Linked DNA regions of Homo sapiens: region 2 is linked to region 1. The links are contacts of gene promoters, found by promoter capture Hi-C in human tissues and cell types (Jung and others, 2019). All regions are on one chromosome and are shown on one strand. The core of a region is centred on a gene start or on the middle of the fragment in contact, and the rest is flanking DNA. Distances in the headings are between cores, read along the strand shown.

Region 1 (4,905 bases), core at 1,920-4,419:
GTTACTCTCAGGGCCTCTTCCCTCAACTGTAAAATGAGAAGGTTAGCTAGATGATTTCAGAAGTTCTTTCTGGCTCTAAAATTCTGTAAGTCTGGAAACACCTGCTAGTGACATTTATGCACGCATTAGTTCTCTTTTACCCTTTTTAAAATGTTTTTGATTGTGCCTTAATATTATTATTAATATAGATCTTTTCCATTTCTTTTTAGAATTTTCTTTTTTGTTTCTTGACAGCAGGCAGTGTTTCTACATTTATTTTCCATTAAGTGTTATTATGTACATTTCTTTACATATCTGTTATACATTGAAATAAGATTAGTATGTCATAAGGTATGAATGATGTAATTCTTTCTAAAACATAGGGCAATCATTTGTGAATTTCATATTTGAAGATTTAAATGTTCAAATGGTTTAAAGAAAAACTGCATTACAAAACAAATTGCATTTTTTTCATAAGATTTTCAGTCATTCTGACACCTGCTTGAAAACCTCAGGCAGTTCAAGATGTCTGAATGTAACTGTAGGGCTGAGTATACCAGCATCAGTCTTTTAAATGCATTCATTTTATGTATATAATTGTGGTAAATTTTCTTTTAAAAGTTTTCTTAAAAAACAAAAAGTTTTCAAGGGAAAATATCAAAAGCTGTGCTGAACATTTCTTGACTTTGCACCGTATCACCTAATTGACTTACTTTCTGTCTTTTGGGTATGAAATATGGCCTGGAAATTATATATTTTATATAAATAACATATAATATAAATTATATATATATAAACTTCAACAGAAAAAGTTGGTAAATACTAGAATAAGTGGTAAACTTGGAGTAAACTTTTTGTCAAAGATTTTCATTATTATTTGATTCTGTGTACAATTTAAGATCAGCTTTACCATGACAAGAAGCAGATGAAGCACTTGAATCTGATATACATTGAAATAAATTAGTATGTCATCAGGTATGAATGACATAATTCTTTCTAAAACATAGGGCAATTATTTGTGATTGCCCTGGGACAATCACACTGGGACAGCCATTAAAAGAGATTGAAATGGGTACTACTGAGTGACACTTAGGAAGTATAGTCCAACCTAACATCTCTTGTAACTTAGACACATACTATCTGAATTTTCGATAGGATTTACAAAATAGTCTTAGTTTGATTTACAAGTGATACATAGAAGTTAAGAAGTTTGGAGTAGAAGAAAAGGTAAAGGAAACAATGTTTTTTGTTTTGTTTCTCTGAGACAGAGTCTTGCTCTGTCAACCAGGCTGGAGTGCAGGAATGCCATCTCTGCTTACTACAACCTCTGCCTCCCGGGTTCAAGCAATTCTCCTGCCTCAGCCTCCCTAGTAGCTGGGATTACAGGCCTGAGCCACCACAGCCGGCTAATTTTTTTATTTTTAGTAGACACAGGGTTTCACCATGTTGGCCAGGCTTGTCTCGAACTCCTGACCCCATGTGATCCACCTGCCTCCGCCTCCAGAAGTGCTGGGATTACAGGTGTGAGCAACCACACCCGGCCAGAAACAATGTTAAGACAATTCTGTATTGATGTTTTTGTGCAACTCCCTCCTCCCTTTCCCTCTCTCAAAGAATCTTCTTCCTAGCCTCATAAGCATGGAGGCAGACATGAGCTACCCTTTATTGTGTGCTTGGCGCTATATATATTCCCTCATATTCTTATGGCCTCTTAAAGTAAATATAATTATGTCTTTAAGGAAGAATCAGGGTCTGCAAGATCACACAGATAAGTGGTGGCAGCAGAATTGAAACTTAGATCTCTATGACAAAATTCCATGGTTTGCAATCAGACAAAACAGTTCAAACCCGTTTCCTCCACATGGGTGCATTTCTATGAACTTTTGCATGATGCTTTACCACAATGAGCCTTGCTTGGGTTTTATCAGTAAGATCAGATTATCAGTATCTAGAGACAGAATTGCTCTGAGGGTGAACTCAGATAAAGGTCTGTTCAAAGTACTTAGCACAGAACCTTGCAGAGGGTTGCCCCTCAGTGAATAATCACTATTATTACTATAACTATCACTGTTATTGTTGTTATTGCTGTTGAGATTATGATGTCAGGCTTTCCAGACACAGAGTATGGTTTCATTTGATTGTCCTACATGTATTAAAGTCCTACTGTGAGCAGGTTACTATTACTAAACTTTAGCTCCTCATGAAATGTTTATCTGGAAGCAGGTGAAAATAATGTGAGTGAATATGTATTACTTTAAAGACCACACCAGGGAAGCTCTTCAGACTTGAAGATAAGACCTTATTGTTTAAACTTGTGTATTTGCTAAGTTAGGCAAAAAATTGCTCTAGAGACTTTTTTGACTAAATTAAACCAAATATCATCAGATGCATGTGTGTACAAAGCCACAATAAACCTGAAAATGTCGCTGGGGAGGCAAGATCTCCTAGCATTTCAGAACAGGCTGATTTGATCATGATTTAGAGAGCTTTTCCATACACTTAGGCTGCTTTCTCTTCCTATGGCTGCAGCACACTTTAGTGGAAAATAAGCCCATAGGTATCTCATTTTTGGGGTGTGTGTGTGTGTGTGTTTTGTCCTCCCACAATAAGAAATCTCATCCTTTCCCATGGGCTCTGATTTTCTCTAACGTAAAGACATCGCTACTACTGTAGATAAAAGCAACACACTGTCAGAATCACAGAGAGCTAAGAGGTTGGACTTTATGTTCCATTTCTATTTTATTTGAAGATAGAAGTTTGATAACTTTCACAGATCTTTTGAGAGTGCATAATATATATAATTATGCTACACATATTGTTCTGCCACATCCAGATGCAAACTTCTAAAGGTGCAGCAGAGTACATCCTGCCACCAGCTGAGAAGGAGAAAGAATTATGGAAGGAGGGAGATAATTCTTGCCTATAAAAAAATGAGTTTACTTTCCTAATAAAATAAATCTAAAATTGGCCATTGTCATTGTATGATGTTAACAACCAGCTCTTTTGGCAAGTTTGAAAATACTGGGCTCCATTATAAAAGCTAAAAATGTCCTGGACCTGGAGTTGTTTACCCAGAGCATGAGCTGCTCTAAAGTTACAGAGCTCTGGTTGGAAGAGGTGGCTTGAAGGCCGCCTCCAAGTAACTGACGTCACAGTAGTCTCAGCTGCTGCTGTGACACTAAGCTGAGCAGCTTTTTGACTTGTAAAAGTGGTGAAGGTTTCAAAGGGACTTGTCAGTACTGCTCTGTGGAATGGTTGGACTTATTTTGCATCCCCTTTTCTTGTAAAGAATCGAGATTCACCGAGCTGAGACTTTTCTCTTTAAGACAGCTAGCCATCCACTTTCTTCCACTGCTAATTGACCAGTGGTCGAGCATCCATAGGATTTCTCCCCAGTGTGAAAGGTATGTTTCTTTCCGGCAAGTTTACAAGCAAGTGACTAATTATGGCAGGATACAAAGGGGCTGCTGTTGAGATGTTTTAAACTATGGATACTGTTTAAGTGGAGTGTAATTTCAACATCTGTCTCTGCTGTTGTCTGTGTCTGGGCTTAAAAACAGTGGGCGGGGTGCATAACAGATTGTACTGACTCCTAGGAAAAAGGCTGTTCAGCTGCTCAGGGTGGATTTCCCAACTGTGGACTGACAGTACCATCCGCTCTTTGAGACTGTTTTTCCAACACTGCTTCTCAGTTGTTTGAAAAGCACTTTGCCCATCATTGATTTTCACTAAGTATATTTATTCAAATGTGATTTTTTTTATTCATATAAAGACTTTTAACATTTGCAAATTAAAGGTCACAATCCTGGAGACTTGGTATTTGAAAATTGCGGTGAAAAATAAATTTTAGTTTTATCTAAGGTGGTGGTGGACTCACTGTAGAGTTAGTGTTTCTGTAATTTGAGCTGAAGTCTATGCCATTCATAATTGAATAATCTACGTTTAGGAGGGAAACTTACCACTATGTCTTTTGTTCACGATGGTTAGTTTTAGACATTTGTTTACTCAAACCAAATGTTTGCTTTTAAAGTTTGCATTTTATAAGTAAAATCAGTGTGCATACAGCTTGGATGTTTTCTAATTTGAGTAAATAACTGTAAAGAAAACAAGGAAGAAGATAATTAAATGAAACGGTAAAGTTGATTCATTCGGAATTGCATGTGGTAGTGTCTCTTTGACCTTGTTGGAGCATGAGGAATGTGCTAAATCAGCAATACACAGCAATGAAAAAAATTTCCCTTTTACTCTAACAAAATCAAATCATGGTGGTCTTTGGAAAGATTCAATTGCAAGTGAACAATAGAGAGGAATGAGATTTATTAATTCATTGAAATAATTCAAGTGATTATAATAGCCTGGAGAAAGGGATAGAGAATTTAGGAGGTAAATGGTACATTACTCTGATAGGTTATAAGCTGGGGAATTCCTAATCCATCAAAGTTAAGCAGAAGCAAAACATCTTCAGGCCAAATGAGTCTTCTAGGAATTGTGAGATTAGCAGTACCTACTGTGTGTGGCATTTCTATTGGAATATGTAACCTCTTATAAATGAAAAATCTTTAATTATGTGAAAAGTGATATGTTTAGCAAAAGGAAATAAGGACAGCAAGAAACAAGTACTCTAAACAATAATCTAAAAAGAGAGAAGTAGCAATGGAGCAGCTGCCCCTAAGGAACGCTGTTTAGTTTGTTTGGATGCAGTCCAGTTTTCAATGGGCGAGTTGGAGGTTGAAAGGGTAGTGACCCAGGTGTCCTAAGAATGGAGCACCCCTCAGAGAAAGAATTGCTGCCATGACCAAACTGAGGCTAATTTGGGGGTGAAAATAATTTCTTGTGAGACTTGTGTGTTACTCTTAAACTTTGCTTACTGGTAGGGCCGGAAGGCTAGCAGAACTATTTGCCTCCCATCACCATACTTATGCAACC
Region 2 (5,098 bases), core at 2,348-4,847, 43 kb after region 1:
TTACTAGATTTAACAAATATGAATATGGAATCTTCAGTTAAATTTTAATTTCAGATAAACAACAAAAATATTTTAAAATAAATATACTCCAATACTCCAAATATTGCATTTATCTATCTCTTTACCTACCTATCTTTGTGTTAACAATCAGTTCATAACCACTTGATTGGTTTATTACACTAAATCACTACTTTGAGTCAAAGGTACTCCCAACCTCAGATTCTTTTGCCTACATACATCCAGTTTTGCCTAGGACAGTCTTGGTTACGGCATAACTTCCCAGTAATTATTTACCCCACCTTTTCACTCTCAAAAGTGTCCCAGTTTGAATATTAAATTATATAACAAAATCTATGCACATTAAGTATAAAATGCAGCTCAAAGCACTCAAGGGAGAATTAAAGGATAAACAAAAGAAAAAAAAGGAATAGTTTAAAACCAGAAAGCAGAAACCAAAGGAAGGGCTAACTAGAACTAGTGATAAAGTCCTTGTTTTGAAAATAGGGAAGGCTGGCCGGGTTCAATGGCTCACAGCTGGAATCCCAGCACTTTGGGAGGCCAAGGCGGTGCATCACCTGAGGTCAGGAGTTCGAGACGAGCCTGGCCAACATGGTGAAACTCTGTCTCTACTAAATATACAAAAATTAGCCAGGCATAGTGGCGTGCACCTGTAATCTCAGCTACTCGGGAGGCTGAGGCAGGAGAATTGCTGGAATCAGGGAGGCGGAGGTTGCAATGAGCCAAGATCACGCCATTGCACTCCAGCTAGGGCGACAACTGCGAGACTCCATCTCAAAAAAAAGAAAGAAAATAGGGAAGGCTTTCAGTTGACTTACATGGGACACTAGCAGGGTTCCTAGTTGTACAAGATAGTACAGATGTGTTTCCCGGACTTAAAAACTATGTTGTGAAGCTGAGAAGAAACTGGAACAGACAGTCTGTGAGTCAAAAGAATTGGAAGTGGAAGGGAGCTTAGAGCTTAGAGTAGAATAAACCAATAAAGTGGTGATAGTTATTGCTAACGAAAAGGTAAAGAAATCATCAAATAGGAAAAAAGGCAATAATTATAAAGTATATTTCCCATTGTAAGCATAATAAAGCTCATTATATCAATGTGAACTTATTTGATTATAAATATAATTAGAACGATAATCTTCTCCCAACCCAGAAATTCTCTCCATAAAGGTAGTAAAGAAAGCACTTTTATTATTGAATAAACATTAAGCCAGAATGTGAGGTACATCACAGGTAATCCATTAAGAGATTCCAAAAACAGAAAGTAATCATACCCCCTTATATCGCCCAGCAGATACAACGCATTACATACGTGTTTTCAAGATAAATAACAATTTCTCAGGTAAGACAACATGACAGCCCTATTTGCAAACATCATTCATCCTAACTTTACCTGGAAATTGAGGAGATCGTTCCTGTTAGCTAATTGACCTTGTCCGGGGAAAAACAAACTTCTCGTATTTTTATGACAGAAGGTAGTTCTGGAGCCTGGCTTCCACTGAAGTTAGATTCCTGTCCTCCCACAGAAACTGGGAGATTAAGGATGCTATCTCCCTCGTTGTGTACATTTCAATGGCATTGTTCCTAGATTATTGAGAGAGACCTTCCTGGGCTGACAAAGGGCCTATCTAGTCTTCAAAATGATTTATACACATTTTAATGAACCAAGAGAGTACAGTGGGCTCTCTGTATCCAGGAGTGTGCATCTGTGGATTCAATCAACCATGGATCAAATATATTTGGGGGGAAAAAAAACATTCCACAAAGCTTCAAAAAGCAAAACTTCAGTTTGCCATATACCAAGTACTACATTCAGTCCATGCAAAGGAAGTGATATGTAGACATTGTATTAGGTATTATAAGTAATCTAGAGATGCCTTAAAGTCTTCAGGAGGATGTGTGTAAGTTACATGCATATACTATGCCATTTTATAGAAGAGACTTGAGCGTCTTTGGATTTTGGTATCCCAGGGGTCATGGGGAGCCTGGAACCAATCGCTCACAGATACTGAGGATAATTATGTTTAAAATTAGAAGCTTTCTAGAATAAATTCTCTGATAAAAAGAAGAGAAGGAAAATCTTTTATTTTCAGCAGGGAGAATTATGCTTCTTATTTTAAAATTTTAATTGTCCTTACAAAACCTACAAAAAAAGTTGAGAAAATTCAATATTACCTATATCTGGATTAGCATTTTTGTATATTTTCTTACATTTTATGTATTATGTTGGTTTTTTTAGCTTTTAACATACAACATATACAAAATTTTATGTCTCACTTTTTTTCTTAACATTACCCCATGTTATTAGTTTAATATCACTTTAATGGCAGTATTTTAATGATTGTGCTATATTTCATGTTATATGATAGATGACATCTTGGTAAATAACATATTTTCTTTTTCTTTTTTTTTTTTTTTTTTTTGAGACAGAGTCTCACTCTGTCACCCAGGCTTGGAGTGCAATGGCACGGTCTCGGCTCACTGCATCCTCCACCTCCCCGGTTCAAGCGATTCTCCTGCCTCAGCCTCCCGAGTAGCTGGGACTACAGGCGCATCCCACCACACCCGGCTAATTTTTGGGTTTTTTTGCTTTTTTTTTTTGAGACGGAGTCTTGCTCTGTTGCCCAGGCTGGAATGCAACAGCGCGATCTCCGCTCACTGCAAGCTCCGCCCTGCAGGGTTCATGCCATTCTCCTGCCTCAGCCTCCCGAGTAGTTGGGACTACAGGCACCTGCCACCACACCCGGCTAATTTTTTTTTGTATTTTTAGTAGAGACGGGGTTTCACAGTGTTCGCCAGGATGGTCTCGATCTCCTGACCTCCTGATCCGCCTGCCTCAGCCTCCCAGAGTGCTGGGATTACAGGCGGGAGCCATCGCGCCCAGCCAGTTTTTGTATTTTTAGTAGAGACGGGGTTTCATCATGCTGGTCAGGCTGGTCTTGAATTCCTGACCTCGTGGTTCGCCCACCTCAGCCTCCCAAAGTGCTGGGATTACAGGCGTGAGCCACAATGCCCAGCCTTTTCTACTGTTTTCTTTTGAAACATTATCAGGAATAGGATGTGTGAGTAAATAAACATTTTAAAGCTTTTGATAGGTAGAGGAAGAGGACATGGTCTTTGTCTTCTTTCTCCTCAGTTGCAGACTCATTTTTCTCTCAGTCTTCATAATTACATTGTCTGATTTAGAGTGTGATTACATTAATGCTAGATCATGTTGCTCAAAATTAAACAAGTGGGTAATTTCCAAGATTGATTGGCCATACTATTGTCACTGTATTATGCGCATTTTGTTGCATTGGTTCATATTCCTTCTCAACTTACCTCTTGCCACTTGGAATATATATTGATTCATTATGGTGCCAAGCAGTAACATAGGAGTGTTTGATCCAACAGAAATACACAATCAAGGATAGCAAAAGTAACACATGAAAGACCATAATCAAGCTTAATTTCCACTTGCTCTGTTTTTTCACGTATCTTTAAACTATGGTTTTAGCTTCGATAAATGACTGAAGCTGGAGAAGCCATGGTTGAAATCAACCTACACTTCAGTGCACAGTTGAGGAGCCAGAGACTAAAATCATCTACAGAACCACAACAATGGCAGTATATCTTTTCTTCTTTGAACAAAAATCTATTTTTGCTGTCTTTTTACCGTATAAAGTTTTTTTGTTTTGCTTTGGTTTTTTTGTTTGTTTTGTTCATTGGTTGGTTATTTATTTATTTATTTATTTATTTTGAGACAGAGTTTCGCTTTTGTTTCCCAGGCTGGAGTGCAATGATGCGATCTCAGCCCACCGCAACCTCTGCCTCCTGGGTTCAAGCAATTATACTGCCTCAGCCTCCTGAGTAGCTGGGATTACAGGCGTGTGCCACCATGCCCAGCTAATTTTTGTATTTTTAGTATATAGGGGGTTTCTCCATGTTGGTCAGGCTTGTCTCGAACTCCCAACCTTAAGGGATCCACCCGCCTCGGCCTCCCAAAGTTCTGGGATTACAGGCCTGAGCCACTACGCCCAGCCTAAAGTATTTTTTAAACATGAAAATAATAAAGATTTTGATAGATGTTGCTGAATTGCTAAACCTTATTTAAATAACTGTATGTTTTATCCAATAGTTTTTCTCCTCCTTGTTAATCAAGCAATTGTAGAGTTTTAAAGTAACTTTAACAATTCCTTCTTCTTCCAATTAAATAGCCTAAAACATTCAAAACCAGTAGGCAGCATGAAACAAATATATATCCTTGTTGTTCTTTTTTCTCCCTGTTTAGGAGGAGCCCAACACCCTCTGCCCTCACTGGAAGCACAGTGAGCCATCACTAATAATTCAGTAGCAGATATAAAACGTAAGGGAAGAAAGAATACTGAGTGATTCTCAGGTTGCCTTCAACTCTGCTTTAAAGCCTTGAACATTGGTGATAAATTTTATACTCATATAGAGAAACAATTTCCTCAACCCCATAAGAATAACAGAAAGGTGGCTTTTTAAATAATCTAGTTGACTGTATTACATATTTTTCTTGCTCTACTCCAGACTGTCAGGTTTGCCCTAGATACAGAGTAAAGTAAACCCTGGAGACTACTAACCCAAGTCCCTGAAGCAGCCACTGATGTCCTGTGATCAATGGATACAAAAAAATAAATAAATAAAACAGGTCCCTAAAACAAAGTATCCTTTCTCTTTTTCCACTCCATCCTCAGCTTTTTCACTTTTGTAGCTGTTTAAAAGATCTGAGTAAAGCCACTGTGTTTTGATACACACCCAGCCTCTGGTAGGTTAAATTACAAGTTGGTCTGCGGTCAGAGAGACTCAAAGCTGTGTCCTAACTTTCAAAGATGAAAGTGCATACGAGCTGGCATTTGATCCAATTCAGTATTGATTTTACAGCAGACAGATGAAAAAGAGAACTGTACATTTTTTTAAATTAATATACAGAATATATAGCTCTTGTAACAATGGTTATGTTTTAAATTACCTAAAATCTGTAATTAACAACAACAAAAATAATTAAGCCCTATCTTCACATATTACTAACCAATGAATAAGATGTCAAATATGAAATAATCTGAAAGCATTTCATCAC

What was found. The method cuts DNA at HindIII sites, captures the fragments that hold promoters and counts their contacts. A contact is called where the count stands out against the background at its distance.
Region 2: a fragment that was not itself captured here is called in contact with the fragment with the promoter of KIAA0408 in region 1 in 7 of the 25 tissues and cell types used here (H1 embryonic stem cells, adrenal gland, bladder and 4 more).

Annotation. Positions count from the first base shown.
Region 1 is chr6:127,457,653-127,462,557 of GRCh38, reverse strand. KIAA0408 reads left to right here and starts at 3,169. Exons shown (of 6, transcript NM_014702.5): 1 at 3,169-3,383. All of the region lies in intron 7 of SOGA3-KIAA0408 (SOGA3-KIAA0408 readthrough), which reads left to right. The HindIII fragment of the contact is 15,174 bases long and covers 1-4,905 here.
Region 2 is chr6:127,414,965-127,420,062 of GRCh38, reverse strand. It overlaps the pseudogene LOC100287856. Among named protein-coding and RNA genes, the nearest start is that of KIAA0408, 42 kb to the left of the region's middle. The HindIII fragment of the contact is 3,360 bases long and covers 1,918-5,098 here.